Linked DNA regions of Homo sapiens: all the other regions are linked to region 1. Evidence: promoter capture Hi-C in 16 types of primary human blood cells and fetal thymus (Javierre and others, 2016). All regions are on one chromosome and are shown on one strand. Each heading gives the region's core, a stretch centred on a gene start or on the middle of the fragment in contact. The rest is flanking DNA. Distances are from core to core; before and after follow the strand shown.

Region 1 (2,917 bases), core at 125-2,624:
AAAGAAGTGGCCCTCAGGAACTGGGTCCACGAGAGACAGGATTATTAAGGGGGGATTCTGTGCAGGCGGAAGCCTGTGGTCCTTCTCAATTTGATACTGGAGATGATCAGGAAAGCCTCAGCTTCTCCCAGAATGAATTGAGAGGACCTTCCTTCCACTATAGCGACCAAGATCTCCACCTAAGGGGCGCTCACTGGAAGTTTGCTGAAATCCCAAATCAGCATGCTCCTGATTTCAGAAGCTGCCATCCACCTTTGCACTTCAACACAAAATCCACCACATCCTAGGCTCCAGCCCTGGAACACCAAATGAAGCCACACAAGTTCTGCACACCAAGACCTCTTCAATGGAAGGAAAATGACCACTGAGTTTGGTCCACCCTTTTCCCACCTCCCGTACCAAATCCCAAATCATCAAAACAGGCCCAACTCTGCATCTTACAGCCAGGGAAACTGGGGACCACCAGGCCAGGGCCCTCCATCACCAATGTCCCCCCCAGAACTGGCCAGGCTCAGTCACCACTCAGTGGACCCCAGCCCTCAGCAAGCACTCTTCCCCAACAGCCTTTACACACATTCTCTCTCTCTCTCTCTCTCTTACTTTTTCTTGGATAATTTCTTTAGCAAGGTACTTCAAAACAAGCTTTTAGTTTAATCTATTTCCATTTTGTGAGCAATGGTTCTTCCTAGAGTCCTGATTTCTTGCCGAAGAAGGCATTAGGAGAGGATGGCTCAGAGAGTCGCCCCGCTTCCCCTCTCAGCCAGTTCCAGGACACACACAGGCGTCCACACACTGAGGGGCCCTGGGAGGACCAGCTACCCAGTCCGGAGTCCACCCGCCCACGCCCCTGTGAGTGGTGGGCAGGCACTCAATGCCAGGACAGAGAGCTCACTACCTTACAGACAGCCCACCCTGGGGGATAAGGGGTAAAGAGCCAGACCTGGTCCACCTCTTCTCGCCCACCCTGAGGCGACCCCAGAACCGGGGCGTGGGGGGACATCACAACTAGAAGGACCGGGGGCTGCCGGACCCTGCCGTCAGAAGACCCCGGAGGGGGCCCTGTGCCTCCCTTGCCCGCCAGAGTCCTTCGCCTTCAGCTTCTCCCGGGTGGAACCCTCCCGCAGAGCCTGGGAATCCCGCCAGGGTCACTGTGCGCCCCTCCCGAGCTCCGGGGCAAGGGAAGGACCGCGGCGCAGGTGCGGGAAGGCGCGGGTCCACCCGGGTCCGGTGAACCCCGAGGAGTGGGGGCGCCCCCGGTGCGGGCCGTCGCCCCCTTACCGCAGAGCAGCAGCAGCAACGGGAGAAGTTGCGGGCGCCGCAGCGCTCCAGTCTCCATGGCTGGCCGGCCGCAGCTGGGTCACGCTCGGTCCCGCTGGGGGCGCGGCTGGGGGACGCCCGGTTGGGGTTGGGGTGGGGCGGGGCCTCAGGGGGTCCGCCCTCAGGCCGCACCCCCAGACCACGCCTGCGGCCGTGCCCCGTTGCCTCCAGATGTGGGGTGCAGTCCCTGCAGGCGCGCCGGGTGGGAGGGATGGGGGCGGCTGGAGTCTCAGCGGGGTGAGAGGGGGGCGAGGGCAGGGTTTCGAGCTGGGGACAAGCTGGGGTAAGGTGGGGTGCCGGCTGATGGGCTCTGAGGGCGGGGCTGGGGTGCTGAGCTGCAAAGGAGCTTTTTGGGAGCAGATTGTAGGGGCAGACTGGGAGGTGAGCTGGGGTGAGCGTGGGGGCCGGCTGACGGTGGGCTGGGATGCAGGCTGGAGAGACTTGGGGAACTTCCGTCCAGGCTCAGGGGCAGAGGGTGGGGGTAGACCGGGGAGGGAGCTGAGGTGAGGATGAAGCGCTGGCTGATGATGGCCTAGAGGAGTCTGGGGGTAGACTGGAGGAAGGTGGACCTGGGAGTGGGCTAGGTGTGCCCTGGCCGAAAGTAGACCAGAGTCCAGAGCTGCCCCCAGGCAGGGAGGGGAACTTTGAGCAGAGATACATCTAGGAGCCAGGTCTCCAAAGGTCAGGAAAGTGCATAAAAGAGGTTGGGGGGTGTGTGTGTGTGCGTCTGTGTGTGTGCGTGTGTGTGTTGTTCATGGAGTACGTGTGTGTGATGTGCATGTGGGGTGTGTGTAGATGCATGTGTGTGCATGGAGTGTGTGATGTATGGTGTGTGTGTGGCATGTGTGTGTTTGAGTCTGAGACAAGGTGTGTTTGTGAGTGTATGCTTGGGAAACAGTGTGTATGAGAGAGACTGGAGGGTGTGGCAACTACACACACAGAGACGTATCACACACCAAGAACCAAGCCACAAGCAAACCAAGGGACAGGAGAGTATCTGGCACCACCAAAGACCTGGCCTTGAAGAGTGTCAGGGTCCCTGAGGCGAAGGAGGGCCTCAGTTTCTCCAGCCACAGGTCACTTGGCCAGATGGGTCACCTCTGTCACCCTCAGCCCCTAGCACAGGCCCTGGCTCCAGTGGACACTTAATGGTGTCTTAAGAATTGTCACTGGTCAGGACTTCCGAGAGCCAGCTAGAGGCACCTCTCTGCCCTCCAGGGCCCACCCACCACCCCTGGGGGCACATGCTGGTCTGAGGTTGGGGCACAGGCCCAGGCTCCTACATGGATGGGCCCTCCACTCCTCTGAGCCGTAGGTACTGCTACCTTCCCAGGAGCTGAGCTGAACTTCTCCTGGCTTAGAAAGACCCACTTTATTTAACAAGACCCTTATTCGGGAGAAGAACTTTCTGTGCTTTTTTACTGAAGAAATTCTGATTACAGCCAGAATTAATTCAAAGGAGTCAAAACTAATTAAAATTGATCATTTGTCCTGCCTTCTGCCTGAGGGGTGGGCAGCAGGTGTAGGGGTGGCCACAGAGCCTCTAGTGAGACTGATGGTGCCCACAGCCAGGCCTTCTGCCCACAGGCCAGGGGTCATA
Region 2 (2,917 bases), core at 187-2,686, 580 kb after region 1:
CTAACAGCCAGATGCTAGTCTCTGGTACTCAGATGCTGGGCTGCATCAGATAGGATGCACAGGATCATCCTGGAAGCTTGTTGACATAGATTCCTGTGCAACACTCAGATATAGTCTTAATGTAGATTTGTGTTGGGTGGTATGGTAGGTAGAATAATGGCCTACCACTCTGAAACATATGAATATGTTACCTAACATGACAGAAGAGAATTAAGTTGCTAATCAGATGACTGTAAAATAAATTATCCTGGATCATCTGGATGGGCCTAATGTAATCACAAAGGTTGTTTCCTTGCCTTTTCCAGCTTGGCTCTGGCTCCCTTCCTCCAGCAAGGGTGGGTTGAGCTCTCACATGGCACCACTTTGACCTCTTCTGCTTCCCTCTTCTACACTGAAAGACTTATGGGCCAGGAGCAGTGGCTCGCACCTGCAATCCCAGCACTTTGGGAGGCCGAGGAAGGCAGATCGCTTGGCCCCAGGAGTTCAAAACCGTCCTGGGCAACGTGGCGAAACCCCATCTAGAAAGAAAAGAAGAGAAGGGGAGGGGGGAGGGGAGGAGGAGTTACATATATACACATACACACACACACACACGTACGTACATACATACATACACGCTAACTGGACGTGGTGGTGCGTGCCTGTAGTCTTAGCTTTCCAGGAGACTGAGGTGGGAGGACCACTTGAGCCTGAGATCGCGCCAGCCTGGGTGACAGTCAGACCATGTCTCAAAAAAAAAAAAAGATTTGTGATTAGGATTCTTAGTCCTCACCTGTATTATTTTCCTATTGCTACTGTAACAAATTACCACAAATTTACTGGCTTAAAACGACGCAAGTCTGTAGGTCAGAAGTCTGACACGGGTCTTAACTGGTGACCCGAGTCAGATTTGGGACACAAAGAACAGAAACCAAGCTGTGCAGGTTTCTGACAGGCAGTCCGGTTAGGGAGCCCTACAGCAACCCGCCGGTCCTCTCTCTCAGGCAGTTGCTGCCATGGCTCATTATTCCAACCGGTTCTCCTCAGCCCAGTCTATCTCAGTGGCTCCATTCATAGGGTGATGTGCCCGGCGGGACACTAACCCTAACCAAGCAGAGAGACGGTCATGCCCGTCACGACCTCGGCCCTCGCCCCGGCCGAGGCTTCTCCTGCAGGTCGCGAGAATCAGGTGCGTCAGCGGCGTCCGGGAACGCCGGAAGAGCCAGTGGAGCGGCTCTGTAGTCCAAAGTACCCCGTCGACCCCAGCACGGCCGCTCCACCGCCTCCTACTAGACCCAGTCCTAGGGACTGCGCAGTCGCAGAGCTCCGTCCGAGTACCGGAAGCCTAGGCCGCCAGCACTTCCGGGAAGTGACTTCGTCTCCGAAGCCGATTGGTTGTTGCTTTGCTCCCGCTCGCGTCGGTGGCGTTTTTCCTGCAGCGCGTGCGTGCTGCGCTACTGAGCAGCGCCATGGAGGACTCTGAAGCACTGGGCTTCGAACACATGGGCCTCGATCCCCGGCTCCTTCAGGTACACGCGAGGGCTGGGGAGCCGGCTTACGGGCTCTGCGGGGCGCGCCATCGCTCTTCACGCCGCTTAAACCGCACTCCTGGTCTCCTAGGCTGTCACCGATCTGGGCTGGTCGCGACCTACGCTGATCCAGGAGAAGGCCATCCCACTGGCCCTAGAAGGGAAGGACCTCCTGGCTCGGGCCCGCACGGGCTCCGGGAAGACGGCCGCTTATGCTATTCCGATGCTGCAGCTGTTGCTCCATAGGAAGGCGGTGGGTAACGAGAGAGCTGAGGGGAGGAAGGAGGCAAGCTCCAAAAGCCTGGGAAGGGCGGTTCCCGTTTGTCTGAGGTTTTCTCTTGGCCCTGTACCCGTGCAGGCCGGCCTGAGAACCTGGTGCTGTTGTGGCAAACACTCTGGGCTGGAGTTCAGGTTACCTGGATCCTTGTCCGGCCCTGCTACCACCAACCTTTGCGTAATCTTCGACAAAGCACTTTCTTTTCTTTCTTACATAAAAAGGGAGCACATCTATCTTTTCTACTTACAGAATTATTGTGAGAATTTAGCTTCATAACTAGTATATTTAAAGTAGCTTCATAAACATCAGAGTACGTTATTCTTTTTGAGGGTCAGTGCCTGGGGAAAGAACTCTCCACTCTGCATTCTGAGGCGGGCAGAGTGATAGATGATCAAAGTACTGCTAAGTAGTGTTGCAGCAGATGGGTCAGGTAGGCTGGAAGGGGTAGAGACACGTGGACACAGTGATGTGCACTGCTGGCTAAAGTCTTTAATTCATATTCTTACAGACAGGTCCGGTGGTAGAACAGGCAGTGAGAGGCCTTGTTCTTGTTCCTACCAAGGAGCTGGCACGGCAAGCACAGTCCATGATTCAGCAGCTGGCTACCTACTGTGCTCGGGATGTCCGAGTGGCCAATGTCTCAGCTGCTGAAGACTCAGTCTCTCAGAGGTGGGTAAAAGCAGCAAAGCTGTACCTGAATGAAGCTACACAGTGTTGTGGGGTTGGGTTTGTGTGTGGCAAAAAAGAGAGCAAATCCAGGGTGAGATCCCAGCTGCTACATTCTGCCTGATACTGATGTCTTGTCCACCTCCAGAGCTGTGCTGATGGAGAAGCCAGATGTGGTAGTAGGGACCCCATCTCGCATATTAAGCCACTTGCAGCAAGACAGCCTGAAACTTCGTGACTCCCTGGAGCTTTTGGTGGTGGACGAAGCTGACCTTCTTTTTTCCTTTGGCTTTGAAGAAGAGCTCAAGAGTCTCCTCTGGTAAGGCAGAGGTGGGTGTGATTCCTAGTGGAAACATCTGTGAGTAGGAGTTGGGACGAGAGCGGGGTGGCTGGAAGCCAGTTACTACAATTAGCGGCCCTTGGAGCTGGAATCTGATTGGATTCTTTCATTTCAGTCACTTGCCCC
Region 3 (2,917 bases), core at 180-2,679, 550 kb after region 1:
TTAAAGGGAAAAAGTAACTGAAATGTGAAAAGTGCGCTTAAAAAAAATAATGAGGGGCCGGGCGCAGTGGCTCACGCCTGTAATCCCAGCACTTTGGGGGCCGAGGCGGGCGGATCACCTGAGGTCAGGAGTTCGAGAATAGCCTGGCCAAGGTGGTGAAAACCCGTCTCTACTAAAAATACAAAAATTAGCCGGGCGTGATGGCGCGTGCCTGTAATATCAGCTACTTGGGAGGCTGAGGCAGGAGAATCACTTGAACCCAGGAAGGCAGAGGTTGCAGTGAGCCGAGATCGCGCCACAGCACTCCAGCCTGGGCGACAGAGACTCCATCTCAAACAAGACAACAACAACAAAAAATGAGCATACAGTGATCTTTATTCAACTTCCCAAGATCCAGTCCTCAGCTAATTTACAAAACTACAATAGTGTTACATACTCTCCTAGGTCTACACGGCAAAGTACAGTTTGACTGTTGCAACTAGTGCTGCCTTACAAAAAAAGGCTTTATCCCATGCCACCCATCCTAAACCCAGCTGTTCAGAGCAGTGTACCTGGAAATCAGCCTCAAAGTACGGACTGCAAGACAAGGCACAAGGAAACCCTAACACGAAGTCCTATGTTCTGGGCAAAGGGATGGGGATGGCAGGTGGGACGCACCCAGGTCAGGGCGAGGGCGCGGCAAGTTTTCTATTAAATCTCAGTAGATTACAACTCATATCCAATGTCTGATATATTTTCGAGGGAAAATGGTGCTTGAAAGATGTTTCTACGAGAAATAAGCTTCATCTCGGTCAATCTGTTCGACCCAACTTCTGGCAGCAGGTGTGGGGGCGGCGCCAAGGTCTGCGCGGTAATCCAAACAGGCAGTCCCACCCAGGGCCACCCCAAAGCCAGATGCTCCGACGCAACTCGAGCAGGCCACACTGTCTTTCGGACAAAGCGACGCGGTCCTCACAGGCGGGAAGGAGAGTGCGTCCCGGTCGGGAAGGACGCCGTCGGAGAGCGGCCTAACCACGTGACGCCCGCGGCGACCTTGGGGGTCACCCCTGCGGACGCACCGCCCTCTCCCTCACATCCGCCGCCGCGCCCGCCCCCCGCTCGCCCACCGCCAATGGCGCGTCGCTCCGCGCCCCGCGCGACCTCGGAGCCCGCCCGTACCCGCCAATCTCCGCCCGCCGGGCAGGCCCCGCGGCTCCATTGGCTGCCACGGCCATCCATCAGGTCCCGTCCCTCCTACCACCCTCCGTGAGCCCCACTCCATCCAGCTCCACTCCCCTGTCACCGCGGCGCCCGCAGCACCAAGGGCGCGGCGGCCTCCCCCTTTACCGCGATCTCCAACCCCGGGCCGCCAAGCGCCGCGACACCCGGCACTGGGACGGGCGCGGCGACAGCGCACGGTTACCTGTCTCCGGCTCAGCTCCACCCGAATGAGGCGCCGACACCCCACTCCGGGGCTCCAAACTCTCGGCCCCGCCCCGGCGTATGGCGTCAACACGTAGCCCTCCCCTGGAGAAGAATGCCCTCCCCTCTTACAGAGGACCGATTCGTGACGTCACAGAGCCGCGCCGGGCGTCACAGCGCCGACTGCGCAGTTGCAGAAGCCAGGGCCAGCTGGAGCCCAGCTGTTTGCTCCGCTAGAGAGATGAGGTTGTCTATGGACTTCCAGCGGCTTCTGCTATCATAAATAATTTCTGAAAGTAAGATATCTCTAGCGCCTGGTAGGAACCTATCAAGAGATAGTTGGGTTGATGTGAAACTTAGCGCACAAAAATAAACAATTTGAATAACAGAATCTCCGTTTTTGAGATTGTCCTGGGTCAGGCTTTGTGACAAGCGCTTCACCGGCGCTATTGTGTAACAATCTGTGAGACAGGTGTTCCTATCCCCGGTCTACAAATGACAGTTGGCAGTGCTGGGATCTTGCCCGGGATCTTGCCTGGGTTTTCTTGACTTTAGAGCTACCTATCAAAGATAAAACGTGGCTAATTAACCTGTCACAACCTGTTGATTGTAAGATGTTCCCTATTTTAAAGTATTAAAATTTGGGGAAAGGCCGGGCGCGGTGGCTCACGCCTGTAATCCCAGTACTTTGGGAGGCCGAAGCGGGCGGATCACTTGAGGTCAGGAGTTCGAGACCAGCTTGACCAACATGGGGAAACCCCGTCTCTACTAAAAATACAAAAATTAGCTGGGCGTGGTGGCGATCCCAGCTACTCGGGAGGCTGAGGCAGGAGAGTCGCTAGAACCCGGGAGACGGAGGTTGCGGTGTGCCGAGATCGTGCCATTGCACTCCAGCCTGGGCAACAAGAGCGAAAATCCGTCTCAAAAAACAAACAAAAAAAGGGGGCGTATAAGTGCTTATTATAGAACAAAGTTAGGGTAATGTATGTGACAAGGATCTAGAGACTGGAAGAGGTGAAGAGACCAAGGAACAAACTTCTGTATTCTTTTTTCCTTTTTTTTTTTTAAATAAATTACGGTAAAAATGTATGTACTAAACATTTGCAGCTGGGTGCAGTGGCTCACGCTTGTAATCCCAGCACTTCGGGAGGTGGAGGCGGGAGGATCGCTTGAGCTCAGGAGTTCCAGATCAGCCTGGGGAACAGAGCAAGATCTCATTTCTACTAAAAAATCAAGAAAATTAGCCAGGTGTAGTGGCACTCACCTGTAGTCTCAGCTAATTGGGAGGCTGAGGCAGGAGGATCTCTTGAGCCTGAGAGATTGAGGCTGCAGTGAGCTATGATTGTACCACTGCACTCCAGCCTGGGCCAGAGAGCAAGATACTGTCTTTTTTTTTTTAATGCCATTTTAACCATTTTTAGGTGTATAACTCAGTGGCATTAATTACATTCACAATATTATGCAACCGTCACCACTCAATTTCCAAAACTTTTTCATCACCTGAAACAGCAACTCT
Region 4 (2,917 bases), core at 228-2,727, 520 kb before region 1:
CATGGGATAACTGCAGGCTAGCCTCCTTTAATGTCAGCACCTGGAATTATTCTGGCCAAAGTTCCCAGCCATGAGGGCAGCTCCCTTATTAACAAAAGGGGGGTAATTCTGGGCAGATGACTTAGCGCCCCAATCCCACAGATCATGTGTTTTTTAGAACCGAGAGTTTTCTTAATTTGAATATTATTTTTATGGACAGATTGGGTGCAGATTTTGCTTCCTGGTTTCATGAGCACATCCCTTAGCCTGCCTGAGCCCACTTTCCTCACATGTGGGAAAGGGGCTGACCCGTCTCACCACCTGGCTTGGGAGGCTCTCGTGGAGTCACAGAAAGCAGTGTACATCCACTCGCAAGAATCAGTATTCCTGGGCCAGGACCTTTGGGCAGAGCTTTCCAGGCTGGCGCATTCCTTGGCTTCTGCTTTGTCATCGCTCTTCTTGCCCAATGGCTTTTCACACTTTCTGCATGTCTAATGCTATTTGTACACCATTGGGTGGGCACACTGGTTCCCACCACTGAGGACTAAGGAATAGGCTTTAAAAACTATCATCCTTCTGTCCTGCTTTCACTTGAAATTATATGAAAAACAGCAGTTTTACTTGAAGTGGTAAATTTTAAAATTTGTCAAACCAAATGTCACTCAATCTATACAAGTCAAAGAAATAGGAATGAAGTTTTAATAGTTAGCATTTTTTTAATTTAAAAACTCAAGATATTACCTATGAATAATGACAAAGTTAAATGAATGAAACTAGATTTAATCTTTTCAAAAAGTTGCTGTTTTCAGTAATTATGCAAATATAACACTGGGTCTGCCAGAAGTGACATCCTGGGGTCGGCTGAGGGAAACGAGTCGTTTAGAAATGAAGGTGGAGAATGTGATGAAGGAATGCAGGACTAGGAACTATACAGTCCTCCAAGTGAGCCACAGATAGTACAAGGCCGCAAAGCTCACGTCTTTCCTGCAAAAGCCCACAGAGCAAAGCAGATGAGGCATCAGGGCCCAGATAGCACAATGTACCTGGAAAATGTCACCCCTCTCCAAAGTCTGTGACATAAACACAGAATAAACATCCCTCTTCTGTCCTGCTGCTAGACTCTCCATTCCAAGAGAACAGGATCAGTATCTTGTGCTCATTTGTTTAATCAATATCAATCGCCAGTCTATTGTGCCCACCAGGTACACTCCCAAAGGAGTGCATGTGCCCAGTGCAGAACTGGGTCTTCATGAGCACCTGCTATATGAGCAGACTCTTTCTTCCTGTCTAGGCAGGGGAGGGAACAGAACTGCCTCCCCTATCCCACCCCATCCCACCCAGAGGGCAGGCAGAGGCCACCCTCATACCTGGACCAGGTGATATGCAGGTACAGGACACAGGCCACCCACATACCTGAACAAGGTGATATGCAGGTATAGGACACAGGCCACCCTCATACCTGGACCAGGTGATATGCAGGTGCAGGATACAGGCCACTCACATACATGAACCAGGTGATATGCAGGTACAGGACACAGGCCACCCACATACCTGGACCCGGGTGATGTGCAGGTACAGGACACAGGCCACCAGGAAGCAGATGCAGAATACTAGCAGGAGCAGGACGACCACACTCCTGGGGGACAGAAAACATGAGAGTCACTGATAGGTGGGGATTAGGAGAGGCGGACCCAAGAGATGGCTGAGAATTGGCCCCTCCCTCCACATCCCCTGTGCTCTCAGGAGGAAGCAGCATCGTTAACCTGGATGCCTGCCACTCAGGTCTCTGGGAACTGACATGGCTGGTTCTATTTTTTAGGGCAGGGCATCTGGGGTTCCTGAGTAAGAAGGGGGCCCCTCCTGAGTCTACCTCCCACTTCTCCTACCCCCACCGCAGAGATCTAGCTTAGGCTGAGAATCACAGAACTTTTCTGGAAGCCGTTTTCCTCATGATGGAAAGACAAGAGTTTCCCAGACTTTGCTGAGCTATTCTCTAGCTGGGCTTTGTCTGGGAAGGGCATTTTTAGAAAACGCTTAAATCCCAAATAGGCCCATGAGGCAGGCTGCTGTGTTCAGTGTCTGTGGGCTGGGCAGGATGCAGAGCACCCAGGGCTGAACTCCCTCCTCCTCCGCAGGTGTGGGGTGGCCTCCATGTGCTTTCAAACTCAGAGGAGGTAGTATTCCCGTAGGTAGGTTTTATTAAGAAATGAGTACACTTGAAAGTAAAGTGGCAAGTGCAGACTCAGTGGTGTCTTTCTTGCAAAAAAAATAAAATAAAATAAAAGCTGCCAAACTCACATTTACTTATATGATGTTTAAATGTTATTTAAACTACTGTTTTTCTTCCTTTTAAGAGGGATTTTAAGTTTTTGAAAATGACATGGATTTAGAAGCCAATGAGCTCATTAAGTGCAGTTTCTTCTCAAAAGTTATTGTTATTATTATTATTATTATTTTTAGAGACAAAGTCTCACTATGTCATCCAGGCTGGAGTGTAGTGGTGAGATCATAGCTCACTGCAGCTTAGACTCCTGAGCTCAAGGGATCCTCCTGCCTCAGCTTCCTGAGTAGCTGGGACTACTACAAGCAAGTGCTGCCATGCCTGGCTAATTTTTTTTTTTTTTTTTTTTGTAGATAGAGTGTTGCTATATTGCTCAGGCTGGTCTTGAACTACTGGCCTCAAATAATCCTCCTGCTTCAGCCTCCCAAAGTGCTGGGGTTACAGGTATGAGCCACTACACCCAGCCAAAAGCTATTATTACAGCAATGGTGCATGTTGCATGGATGAAAAAGCATGAAAATATATTGTGTCTTAGAATTAAGTAAATTCAAAATTTAAAATGGAAAGTGACCAGTCCCATGCCATATACCATCAAGGCTTGTTACACTACTGACTTGAGAAAATGAGGAAATGATGGCTGGCTAATGTCAGCCATGT

Evidence for each region. Contacts are between HindIII fragments. The CHiCAGO score rates a contact against its expected background, and 5 or more counts as called.
Region 2: a contact is called between the fragment with the promoter of DDX56 here and the fragment with the promoter of RAMP3 in region 1, in 7 of 17 cell types (monocytes, naive B cells, total CD4 T cells and 4 more). The highest score is 8.8, in monocytes.
Region 3: a contact is called between the fragment with the promoter of OGDH here and the fragment with the promoter of RAMP3 in region 1, in 5 of 17 cell types (fetal thymus, total B cells, naive B cells and 2 more). The highest score is 11.3, in fetal thymus.
Region 4: a contact is called between a fragment that was not itself captured here and the fragment with the promoter of RAMP3 in region 1, in 1 of 17 cell types (M1 macrophages). The highest score is 5.1, in M1 macrophages.

The regions. Positions count from the first base shown.
Region 1 is chr7:45,156,248-45,159,164 of GRCh38, reverse strand. It overlaps RAMP3 (receptor activity modifying protein 3), which reads right to left and starts at 1,374. Exons shown (of 3, transcript NM_005856.3): 1 at 1,279-1,374. The coding sequence starts at 1,336. The HindIII fragment of the contact is 23,160 bases long and covers 645-2,917 here.
Region 2 is chr7:44,572,427-44,575,343 of GRCh38, reverse strand. It overlaps DDX56 (DEAD-box helicase 56), which reads left to right and starts at 1,436. Exons shown (of 14, transcript NM_019082.4): 1 at 1,436-1,508; 2 at 1,600-1,761; 3 at 2,294-2,454; 4 at 2,600-2,770; 5 at 2,907-2,917. The coding sequence starts at 1,449. RefSeq lists an enhancer at 1,670-1,819. The HindIII fragment of the contact is 6,359 bases long and covers 79-2,917 here.
Region 3 is chr7:44,605,139-44,608,055 of GRCh38, reverse strand. It overlaps OGDH (oxoglutarate dehydrogenase), which reads right to left and starts at 1,429. Exons shown (of 23, transcript NM_002541.4): 1 at 1,403-1,429. RefSeq lists enhancers at 440-779, 455-1,018, 1,270-1,869 and a silencer at 1,000-1,229. The HindIII fragment of the contact is 8,395 bases long and covers 783-2,917 here.
Region 4 is chr7:45,678,407-45,681,323 of GRCh38, reverse strand. ADCY1 (adenylate cyclase 1) reads right to left here. Exons shown (of 20, transcript NM_021116.4): 11 at 1,531-1,615. Among named protein-coding and RNA genes, the nearest start is that of ADCY1, 110 kb to the right of the region's middle. The HindIII fragment of the contact is 2,955 bases long and covers 1-2,917 here.